4 separate regions of the Homo sapiens genome follow, and all the other regions are linked to region 3. The links are contacts of gene promoters, found by promoter capture Hi-C in blood cells and fetal thymus (Javierre and others, 2016). All regions are on one chromosome and are shown on one strand. The core of a region is centred on a gene start or on the middle of the fragment in contact, and the rest is flanking DNA. Distances in the headings are between cores, read along the strand shown.

The links. The method cuts DNA at HindIII sites, captures the fragments that hold promoters and counts their contacts. A CHiCAGO score of 5 or more calls a contact.
Region 1: a fragment that was not itself captured here is called in contact with the fragment with the promoter of DHRS7B in region 3 in 1 of 17 cell types (M0 macrophages); the score reaches 5.2 in M0 macrophages.
Region 2: a contact is called between a fragment that was not itself captured here and the fragment with the promoter of DHRS7B in region 3, in 4 of 17 cell types (total CD8 T cells, fetal thymus, naive B cells and 1 more). The highest score is 7.5, in total CD8 T cells.
Region 4: a fragment that was not itself captured here is called in contact with the fragment with the promoter of DHRS7B in region 3 in 3 of 17 cell types (naive B cells, total CD4 T cells and naive CD8 T cells); the score reaches 7.8 in naive B cells.

What each region holds. Positions count from the first base shown.
Region 1 is chr17:21,419,952-21,422,651 of GRCh38, reverse strand. No RefSeq gene overlaps it. Among named protein-coding and RNA genes, the nearest start is that of KCNJ12, 45 kb to the right of the region's middle. The HindIII fragment of the contact is 7,786 bases long and covers 1-2,700 here.
Region 2 is chr17:21,546,305-21,549,004 of GRCh38, reverse strand. All of the region lies in intron 1 of LINC02693 (long intergenic non-protein coding RNA 2693), which reads left to right. Among named protein-coding and RNA genes, the nearest start is that of LINC02693, 4.0 kb to the left of the region's middle. The HindIII fragment of the contact is 818 bases long and covers 1,036-1,853 here.
Region 3 is chr17:21,125,653-21,128,352 of GRCh38, reverse strand. It overlaps DHRS7B (dehydrogenase/reductase 7B), which reads right to left and starts at 1,389. Exons shown (of 7, transcript NM_015510.5): 1 at 1,362-1,389. The coding sequence starts at 1,381. RefSeq lists an enhancer at 1,068-1,727. The HindIII fragment of the contact is 14,531 bases long and covers 1-2,700 here.
Region 4 is chr17:21,485,620-21,488,319 of GRCh38, reverse strand. No RefSeq gene overlaps it. Among named protein-coding and RNA genes, the nearest start is that of LINC02693, 65 kb to the left of the region's middle. The HindIII fragment of the contact is 210 bases long and covers 1,152-1,361 here.

The sequences.
Region 1 (2,700 bases), core at 155-2,654, 290 kb before region 3:
AGTCCAGAAGCCAGGCCATCCAGGTCCCAGTCCAGCTGTGGGTGAAAGGGGAGCCGCCTTCTATGTTTTCTTGGCAGCACCGAGGAGGAAAGCGGGTGGAGTACCCAGAGCCTTCCTTGGGCTCAAATCGCCTTCAGCACAAAAGCCCTTGTCCGCTCTGTTCCTGGTTCCCAGTTCCAGTTACCCCAGGCTGGGCTGCTCTCCCCTGGGTGTGGCCGGTGGCTGGGCCCCATCCTGTCTGGCTCAGCAAAAAGGGGGCCTCAGGTGGCAAGACCTGTAGAGCCCTCTGTGTGGGAGAGACGCCTGCAGGGCCCACACCCCCCATCCAAGCACACATGGAGCTCCTCCATGCCCTGCTCCTGGCGCTGGGCACCAGCGGGGACCGAGACGGCAGTCCCTGCCCCGCAGAGCTCGCAGCCTGGTGAGGACAGCAGACTGCAAGCCTGGGGGTGACCGCTGCCTCCAGAGGGAGCATCTGCCATCCCTCGCACTGGGTCCGGAAAGGCCTAGACTCGAAAATTGAGGAGCTGGGTCTGCTAAGACCTGAGGGGAAAGTGTCAGGCAGAGGGAAGGCACGCACAAAGGTCCTGGGGTGGGGGGACATGTGGAATGTCAGGGAAACCAAGGGACAGGGTGCCTGCAGCAGAGGGGCAGGAGCAGGAGTGAGAGCAGGGAAGGTTGGGCTGCACGGGGCGGGCTTGCAGAGGTGAAGCGGGCAAGGAGCAGCTGGGGTTTTATTGCCAGTGTTAAGGAGAAGCCAGGGAGGGTTTCAGGCAGGGAACTGCAAGGCCTGATTCTGGTTGTAAGAAGACCACTCTGGTGCCGGGTGGAGAGTGGGCTGAAGGGGGTCCGATGTGTCCTTGGGGCCCCCACTGCTGTTGGGGAGCACACAGGCAGCTCTGATCTGGGCTGTGATTCCTCCCAAGTTGTGGGGGTCCTCCCTGCAGACCGGTTTTAGGAAGGGAAAAGTGGAGATGAGTCCAGGGCAGGCCCCAGCTGGGGCACCCCTCCACTGGCAGAGACCGCAGCCCAGCCCTGGTCACCAGCAGGCAGAGGCCCTGAGGTGTCCAGTGCCCAGCAGGGTGGCAGCATCTGGGTCAACTGACTGAAGGGCCCAGGGCCTGGCTTAGATCCCAGCTTGAGGAACTACCCTGTGGGGGCCTCGAGCAAGTCCCTTAGCTTCCCTCGACCAACCTCCTCTAAAATAGGTTAGCAGTGCCTCTGAGGCCTGCTGACACGGGCCAGCCCAAGATCAAGGGTGGGGCCTGACAGACCTCAAACATCAAGCTCGCAGGCGCTCAGTGAACGCTCACAAGCTCTCCACCCCCATCCCAGCTCTACCTGTTTTAAAGCAGATTCTGGATTGGGCTCACATCATCCCTGGAGAGGCAGGGAAGTGCATGGAAGTCACGCAGACCTGGGGTTAGGCCTGGGCTATGTGTTCCTTGCTGTGACCTTGAGCCAGAGCAGCACCTCCGGGTGCCCCTCAGGAGGGCGGGCAGTGCCAGTGCAATCTGACTTAGCAGAAGGCAGGCACTGAGGAGCACTCACTATGTCAGGGTTCTTTCTCCTCCTTTCCAACAAACCTGTGAGCTGGCCATTCTTATGAACACCCCCTTTTTGCAGATCAGGAGACCGAGGCTGGAGGGGGAAAGGAATTCACAGGAGGTCCCCCAGCAAATGAGTGGCCTGCATTCTGACCCAGGGCCCTTTGCGGCATTAGTACAGCCAGGACAGCGCACCTGGAGACTCTACGATAAGCATTTGTTGAGCACCAACTGGGGCCAGGGCCTCATGCCTACCAGTCAGCGCCATGGGAATGGCCCGGAGGGCTTGAGTGAAGACAGATGCTACCGTGTTTTGGCCCCAGTTGGCCTTGATCCTGCTACTGGGGTCCCAGGAGGGCCCCAGAGTCAGAAAGGAGGTCCCCACCAAACCAAGCCACCTCCAGGGTCCCCGGGTCACCCCAAGTCCAACCCAAGGGAGCTCCCACTGGGAAGCCTTCATGACCCCCTAGGCCCTGGCACCCAAGCCCCTGCTCCACATTCTGCCATGCACGGCACCATCACCCAGGAATGACTCAGGCAGGGGATTCTTATCCGGGGTTGTCTGGAATCATCATCGAAATCCTGCAGAAAGAGGGTGCCCTGAGTCCTTTGCTGATGCAGAGGAGTGGAGAACTCTCCACTCACATAGTTTGGGAAGGGAAGGAATTCTCTCCCCACAAGTCCCTGCTGAAGACCTTGGAGATCTGGGGCTGAGCCTCAAGGTACAGATGAAAGTCTAGTTTCCCAAAACTGGGCCGTGTGTGTTCCCTCACCCCACTCCAGGCTTGTCTCGTCACCTCAGTGGAGACATTGGCACGCTCTGAAACTCCTCCTCAGCCCCTGCCTGCTACAAGCTGGAGCAGGGCTTCCCCTCCTGGGAAAGGAGTTGCCTGTCTCAGGTCAGCCTCCCCCAGCTGGGGAGGGCGCTGCTGCAACAGCAGGCACCCAGCACATCCTTGCAGAAGGAAGGGAAGGCAGGAGGCTCGGCCCTGCCGCCTGGGATGGGTGACATCATGGGACAAGCCCTGTGTGCTTGCTGGAGACCACTGGGAGCTGCAAGGAGGCTGAGTTCTGTTCCATCTCCCAACAGCTGCCACCATGCCCCACCCTCACCCATGAGGAAGCCCCAGGAAACCCCCACCCAAGGCGGAGG
Region 2 (2,700 bases), core at 195-2,694, 420 kb before region 3:
GTATATACTTAAAAGAACATGGTAACAAAATGAACTCTTTAGAAACTGAGCCAACAGACTTGCAAACAAATAGAAATACCTTTGGTCCTACTCTGAAAACAAGAAGAATCCTTAGTGAGTATACAAGAACAAAAATTGTACACATTTCTGGGTCATAATGCAATAAAACTAGAAATAATCAAAAGAGAATTTAAAGATGTTCAGCTTCCTGAAAATGTTAAATTATCCTTTTAAACAAATTAATGCCTGCATCAGGGTGCAAATCCAAAACACAAATACCTTGCCTATAAAAATATATTTTTGCAAACAACAGTGTATCGGGATGTGAGGAGAGAGCTCACTGACTCAAAAGCTCCCAGAGTGACCAGATGTGTTCATGGGAACCGGAGCACTGCCCTGGAGTCATTTGACATCACCTTATTACAAGTAGGAACAGCCATGCTGGGAGATGCTCAGATGCCAGTAATAAGTCAGAGGATTCCCTCCTGAATGGGACCTCCCAGTCCTCTTTGGCACAGGGTTCCAGGCAGTGACCACAAATCCATCGGTGATGGCTTACAAGATCAACCTGCCCTCAGGCAGTGGAGTGGAAACTGGCACTAGCAGCTACAGTGGAAAAAATGAATGGCCTCTAAGAATATGTCATCTGCCCCATGCAAAGATTCTGGATCCCAGAAGTCCTCCTAGTAAGGACTCGGAGCCAGACAACTTCATTTCCTGTCACCTGGGCTGCTCTCCCTCTGACAGCTATGGAAATTGGTGAAGCACAGGAACGTATTGGAAATGGCAATGATGTGCCATGCCAATGTGTGGAAGTGTACAAGTTAAGTAATATTTTAAAAACAGAACACACAACAGTTTGCACAATCCGACCAAAGCTCTGTCATGTATGTTTCTAAACAAGTTTGGAAGAGAATTTGGAAATGGCTGAAATTTTTTTATAAAGCTTATGTTTTTAGTTTGTTTAAATGTAAAAGCATACACTTAGAAACAAGTTAGTATGTAAAAATTTTTAATCTTAGCTATCTGGAAGCTTCAAATACTTAGAATGAGGCATTTCCCAAAGGTATCTGTAACTTGAATTTTACCGTAGTTTGAAAACTCTTGCCCAGCATAATGGCTTACAGCGGTAATCCCAGCACTTTGGGAGGTTAAGGTGGGCAGATCACTTGAGCTAGGAGTTAGAGACCAGCCTGGGCAACATGGTGAAACCCCATCTCTACAAAAAATTTAAAAATTAGCTGGGAGTGGTGGCACTGCTGATAGACACAGCTACTCAGGAGGCTGAGGTGGGAGGATCCTTGAGCCCGGGAGGTCTAGGCTGCAGTGAGCCGTGATCGCACCAGTGTACTTCAGCCTGGGCAACAGTGCCAGACCCCGCCCCCTCCCCTAGAAGAAAGAAAACTATTAGTTCATAGTGCAGTTGATGAAATAATGTACATCCACAAAGAAACAAGCAATCATAATATGTATATAATTACTCAGTATTAAAATATTGTGTATAGTATTACATATATTGAATACCTATAATGAATGGGGCACTGCTTTAAGCACTTTATACTCATTATCCCACAAGAATTCTCTCTCCAGCAGGTCTTAGTATATTCAATTTAAAGGCTAATTAGTAAGCAATATATAGAATTGAATGAGAAACTACTTAAAACATAGAAGGCTCTCGAAAATACAATGTGGAATGAGTAATGCAAGTTACAGAGATACACAGCACATTTATAGAAAGTGTAAAAACTTACAAAGTTAAACAGTATATTATTTAGAGAAACAATATATTATTTAGAGATATTATTATGTAATAAAAGTATAATGAAAGTCAGGGAAATACTTTTTGTAAAGCTTCAGATGAATGATTGTCCCAGATGGGGTTACATTTCAGAAGGGCCAACCATGCAGATGGCTTCAAATGTAGTGGTGCAGGTGATGGGTACAATGTATTTATTTTACTTTTATGTGAGTCTGTGTATGTGTGTGTGTCTGTGTAATTTTGTATGTATAAAATAGTTCGTAATAATTTTTTTTTTGAGTTGGGATGTTTCTCTGTCTCCCAGGCTGGATTGCAGTAGCATGATCACGGCTCACTGCAGCCTTCACCTCTCAGGCTCAAGTGATCCTCCCACATCAGCCTCCTAAGTACCTAGGACTACAAGTGCGCACCACCATGCTTGGCTAAATTTTTTAAATCTTTTGTAGAGATGGGGTCTCACTCTATTGTCCAGGCTGGTCTTGAACTCCTAGCCTCAAACAATCCTCCTGCCTCAGCCTCCCCAAGTGCTGGTATTACAGGGTAAGTTGCTGTGCCCAGCCTAATTTTTTTTTTATTTTTAAACAGCTTTATTGAGGAAAAATTCACATACCTTATGATCTGCTAGGGTTTAGTATAATCACAGATATGTGCAACCAAAACCATGGTTAAGTTTACAACATTTTTATTAGTCCTGTACCTTTTAGCTATCACCCTGTTCCCCCACCCCTACCCCAGCTGTAAGCAATCACAAATCTAGTTTCCATCTCAATAGATTTTTCTTCCCTGGGCATTTCATATAAATCAATCCATATAAGTGTTTTTTCATGTCTGGCTTCTTCACATTTGTCTCATCCAGAAGGTGCCTGAATTTTTCCACAACTGGGAATACTAAGCTGTGGGGTGAATTTTTGGTTCCCAAGTGAATGTGAATGAGGCAGATT
Region 3 (2,700 bases), core at 140-2,639:
TGACCTCAGGTGATCCGCCCGCCTCAGCCTCCTAAAGTGCTGGGATTACATGTGTGAGCCACTGCGCCCAGCCAAGACAGGGTCTCACTTTGTCACCCAGACTTGAATGCAATGGCGTGATCTCGGCTCACTGCAGCCTGTCTCCCAGGTTCAAGCAATCCACTTGCCTCAGCCCCAACAAATAGCTGGGACTACAGGCGTGTGCTACCTTGCCTGGCTAATAGCTCTATGCCTTTGGATAAACTTCTTAACATCTCTAAGCCCATTTCTCCCTCCATAAATAAAAATTATAGTTCCTATGATTAGGGTTATTACAGGATTGAATAATTCAGTAAAGGGATTAGTACAGTGCCTGTAACATAGCAAACACTCAAAAAATATCAACTATTATTAAGGAATGGAGAAAAGGGGACATGTACATGGTAGGGAAGGCATATTCCACACCCTTGGCAAAGGCACAAACATAGCTTCCATTATGCAAACACACCGTTGCAATCGGCAACAGTGTAAGCAAGAATTCTGCTTACTAAATGTATGAGTGTGTGAAACCCAAACGTTACTTCAAAAGTAACTTCACGATTCTCCAATCACTACATGGAAGGTTTGGAAACTGAAAAAAAGAGCATTATGTGGCTACCATTTGTTGAATACCTACTATGTGCCAGACACCAGCTGAGCACCTTGCACGCGCAGTCTCATTTACGCTTCACAACAACCTTATGAGTGGGCTTGTTACTCCCAAAGTTACAGCTGAAGAAACACTCAGAGTTTAAAACATTTGCCCAAAGCCGCACAGCCAGGAAGCCGCAGAGTAAGTATTGGAAGAGCAAGATATCTCAACCAGCCATTCCCGTGGACGCTCGAGTCAGCACCCTCCTCCTGCCTTCTGAAAAACCGGACTTCCTTTGCTAGTCCTAACTCGCCGTCACTGGCTAAGGTGCCACTGGCCCCCAGCGCTCAACCCTCGGTCCTGCCACTCGCAGACGCTGCGGAGCCTCCCCTACGTCGCGCAGAAATGTGGGAATAAACAGGTTGAAGCCAGGAGCCCTGTGGGCGCGAGGCCTTTCACACACAGCGCCCGGCGCGACACCCATTCCCAGCAGCGGAAACTGGACTCAAGACACCTCGGCGACAGGCGGGTTTCCCCGCCACGCACTCGCCGGAGCCAGGGCTCTGGTCCCAGCGCCTGGGCTGAGTCTTCCTTCAGAGTTCGGCGTCGCGGGGATCCGGAAGCCGCCCAGGGCCCGCGGCCTTAGCTCGACCACTACACCGCTTCCCCTCACCCAAGCCGGGGCGTCGCCTCAGCTCAAGGCCAGACCCTATCGCCTCATCTCGGAGGTTCCTTCTTCCCCAGCCCCTACCTGGTAGCCGGAGAGACCATAGTCAATCAACTTCATCCTCCCGCCTCGGAAGTGACGTGTACGCAGCCGGCGAGGCTCCGTCCAATCCCAGCATTGAGGCTGCGCATGCGCGTTGGGTGGGCGTCCCTCAAGGTGTACACAGGACCCGATGGACCCGAGATCTGATAGGGTCCACCCGCATAACTACAGTGCCTTCATCTTCCGGAGGGAAATTCCGAAGGTCGTGGTTGGTGTTCCGTGGACTTCCGGCGAAGAACACAGTTGGAGAATTCACGATACAGTTATCAAGATGATTATAATGCCACAGTAATCAGAACAGTGTGATAACTGGCACAAAGGTAAAAACAATGAATGAAAAAGAGAGAGACCAGAAACAGACCTGCAGCTATGTAGTCACTTTTTCCTCCTACAAGTAGCCACTGTAATGCAATAAGAAGAGTTTTTTCAATATATAGTGCTAGGTCAATTGAAGGTCGATTGGGGGGAAATGAACCTTGACTCCTATCTCAAGTAAAATAATTCTAGACGGATGGTAGACCTGAATGTGAACAATACAACTCTAGACAATAAAATCGCAGAATATTATGACCATAAGAGAGGAAAATAACGTGTTAGCAGAACACAAAAAGTGCCAGTCCTAAAGGAAAAAGCTGATAAATTGGGTGTCTGTAACTATAAGACACCGAAAAGACCCCATTGAGAAAAGGGAAAGACAATAGAACAGACAAGATATTTGTAATACATATATCTGAAAATGAATTTTATTCAGAATATGTACGTACTTCTTGCAAGTAAATTTTTTAAAGGACCCGAAGTGATTTAAAAAAAAAAAAAAAGCATGAAAAGAGGATATTGAGAGAGTAAAGGGCAGAGGAAGGAAGGGGCAGGGCAGAGGAAGGAAGGGGCGGGGGGACTCTTATCGTTCAAAATCATAAGATGGCAAATGTGTGTAAGGTGGAAAATCTCCCTTTCTGTTCTCCAGGACCCACTTCACCTCCCCCTAGGTAACGATGCTATTAGCTATGTGTGTCCTTCCAGAGCCAGTTTATTCATAACCAAGCAATTATGTATGTATTCAGCACCCCCTTGTTACACAAACAATAGCATTCTGAAACGTCCTTCTGTTTCTTGCTTTTATTAACTTTAGCGAATTAATATATCCTGGAAATTCTTACAGATATTCACAAAATCTGAAAATGGGAAATTTTATTTTTAACTAAATATTTATTTTTGACGTTTTCACAAAAGTTTTTATACCTTTCTGGCCCCTCTCCATTGTTCTGGAAACTCTAGATTCCTGCTTGCCAATTCACAAAGTTTGAATATCCTTGTAGCAAAC
Region 4 (2,700 bases), core at 7-2,506, 360 kb before region 3:
CCACGTCCCTGCAAAGCAACGGACTCTGTTGCCACACATGGTTAGGATGGTGTTTGTGTACACAGTGCCTCTGGTGACCCACACATTTCTGGGGACACCCATCAAAGACCCCTTAATTCATGACACTGGACAGCTCTCCTAGGATGGGACTTTCCCAGGACTATCCAGGCAACAAGGGCCAGACCACAAAAATTCCTTATGGATGGGACTTCTTATTAAGACAAACATTCCCAACAGCTGGACACATTCAGAGCAAAAAGTGTGCTGCCTAAAACCTTGTATCTCAGGTTCCCAGGCATCTTCAGACTGAACACCTGATGGGACCCAAAAATCACACCCCAGATGGTAGAAACAAGAGACAGTGCTCCCACTTGTCACAAGTCAAACACTCCAGGGCATAAAACAAGATGAGAGGGGTCCTCATCTGGCTTCTATTTTGTTTTTGTTGTTGTTTTGAGACGCAGTCTCTCACTCTGTCACCCACGCTGGAGTGCAGTGGCATGATCTTGGCTCACTGCAACCTCTGCCTCCTGGGTTCAGGTGGTTCTCCTGCCTCAGCCTCCTGAGTAGCAGGGATTACAGGTGCTCGCTACCATGCCTGGCTAATTTTTGTATTTTTAGTAGAGATGGGGTTTCACCATGTCAGCCAGGCTGGTCTTGAACCCTTGACCTCAAGTGATCTGCCCACCTCAGCCTCCCCAAGGACTGGGAGCCACCGCACCTGGCTTGGCTTCTATTTTGAGGACCCACAGCAAAGTTTGAATGCCCATCTGATCTCAGCCGCAGACTGGCTGCTCTTCAGGTCTGGCCTGAACAATGGGCTGGCAGGATCTTCAGCCCCCATTCTACCCTACAAGTCCTCTCCTCAGGACAGAACACAGGAAGACCAAGACAGAGGAGAAGAATCCTCCTGGAAGGAAGGGCACTAAACAATATGAATATTCACACCAAAAAGTACACCAGAGTCGCTGCACCCAACATTGTTCACACAGATCCTTTCTCACACTAATCAACATCTTGCAGAGGAAAAATGACTGATTTTTACCATCTGCTCACCTGGATTCCACAGAGAGACCAGCCAGAAGCCTGGCTGGTAAGAATTTGTTACCCTTCTGCCAGCTTGTCAGGTCCTGGGTCCCCTGACTGAAGCTTCCAGAAGAGCAAAGCAGCTTTGGTATTCTGTTCAGGACACCAAAACTGTAGGGGCCAAAAGAAAACCTCCACTTTGCCCTTGAAAAGTTCACTGAAAAATCAACTCACAAAAGTCAGATTAATTGGAGAAATGGCATGCACGTTTATTAATGTGCAGATGGAGAAGGACCAGAGCGATGATCCCAACCCCACAATGGTGTGCAGAAGCTTATTTACCGCCTTGAGATTACAGAAGGAACAGAGGCTGGGATGACAGCAAGACAGGTTAGGGGAGAGGGAGGAGGAGGCCTGGCTGGCAAAGGTGGTCTCAGAATGCAGACAGAACCACACAGACAGCAGTCCTCGGAGAGAATAGATGGTAAATGTTTCTTTCTGATGGCTAAATATGTCAGACTGTGAGGGACTCCTTCCTAGATCCAGACAAGGGAAGGCTTCAGAGGAAACTTGCCTGCGTCAGTGCGGATTCTCTACAGATGCAAACCTTCCCCTCAAAAGACAGCTTTGCAGGGCTGCTTCTGTTTGCAGGCCCCTCTAAACAGCCATCTCAAAATGTGTCCAAATATATTATGGGGTGAAATATTTTGGTTTCCTTCAACTACATCCTTACTACTTAGTTCAATGCAATTTCTCTTAGCCATGAACTCTTCAAGTCTTCTTTTTTGCCTGAAAAGGTTTTGATTCAATTCATAATCTTGAGTGATCACTATGTAAGCAGATAAATCTTGGTTGACAGTTATATTTCCTCAGTATATTAAAGAAACCTGGCTGGGTGCAGTGACTCATGCCTGAAATCCCAGCACTTTGGGAGGCCAAGGTGGGTGGATCGCTTGAGCTCAGGAGTTTGAGACCAGCCCGGGCAACATGACGAAGCCCTGTCTCTCCAAAAATTACAAAAATTAGCCGGGTGTGGTGGTGCATGCCTGTAGTCCCAGCTACTCAGGAGGCCGAGATGGAAGGATCCCTTGAACCCAGGAGGTGGAGGTTGCAGTAAGCCTGAGATCACACCACTGCACTCCAGCCTGAGCAACAGAGTGAAACTCTGCCTCAAAATAAATAAATAAATCTTTCCATGGTTGTTGTGTGGCTGTTGAGATATCTGCCTTGTCTACATTAATTTCTCTAATTTTTCCTATCTTTTATTTTGATGTAATTTCAGACACTTTAAAAGTTGCGGCCGGGCGTGGTGGCTCAGGCTTGTAATCCCAGCACTTAGGGAGGCTGAGGCAGGTGGATTCCCTGAGGTTTGAGACCATCCTGGCCAATGTGGTGCAACCCCGCCTCTACTAAAAATGCAAAAATTAGCTGGGCATGGTGCGGGGTGCCTGTAATCCCAGCTACTCAGGAGGCTGAAGTAGGACAATTGCTTGAACTCAGGGGATGGAGGTTGCAGTGAGCTGAGATCGCACCACCGCACTCCAGCCTGGGCAACAGAGCAAGACTCCATCTCAAAAAAGAAAAAAAAAAGTTGCAATAGTAGTGCAAAAAAAATCCATTTATGATTCCTTCAGATTCCTCTCATATTAACATTCAACTACATTTGCTAAATTC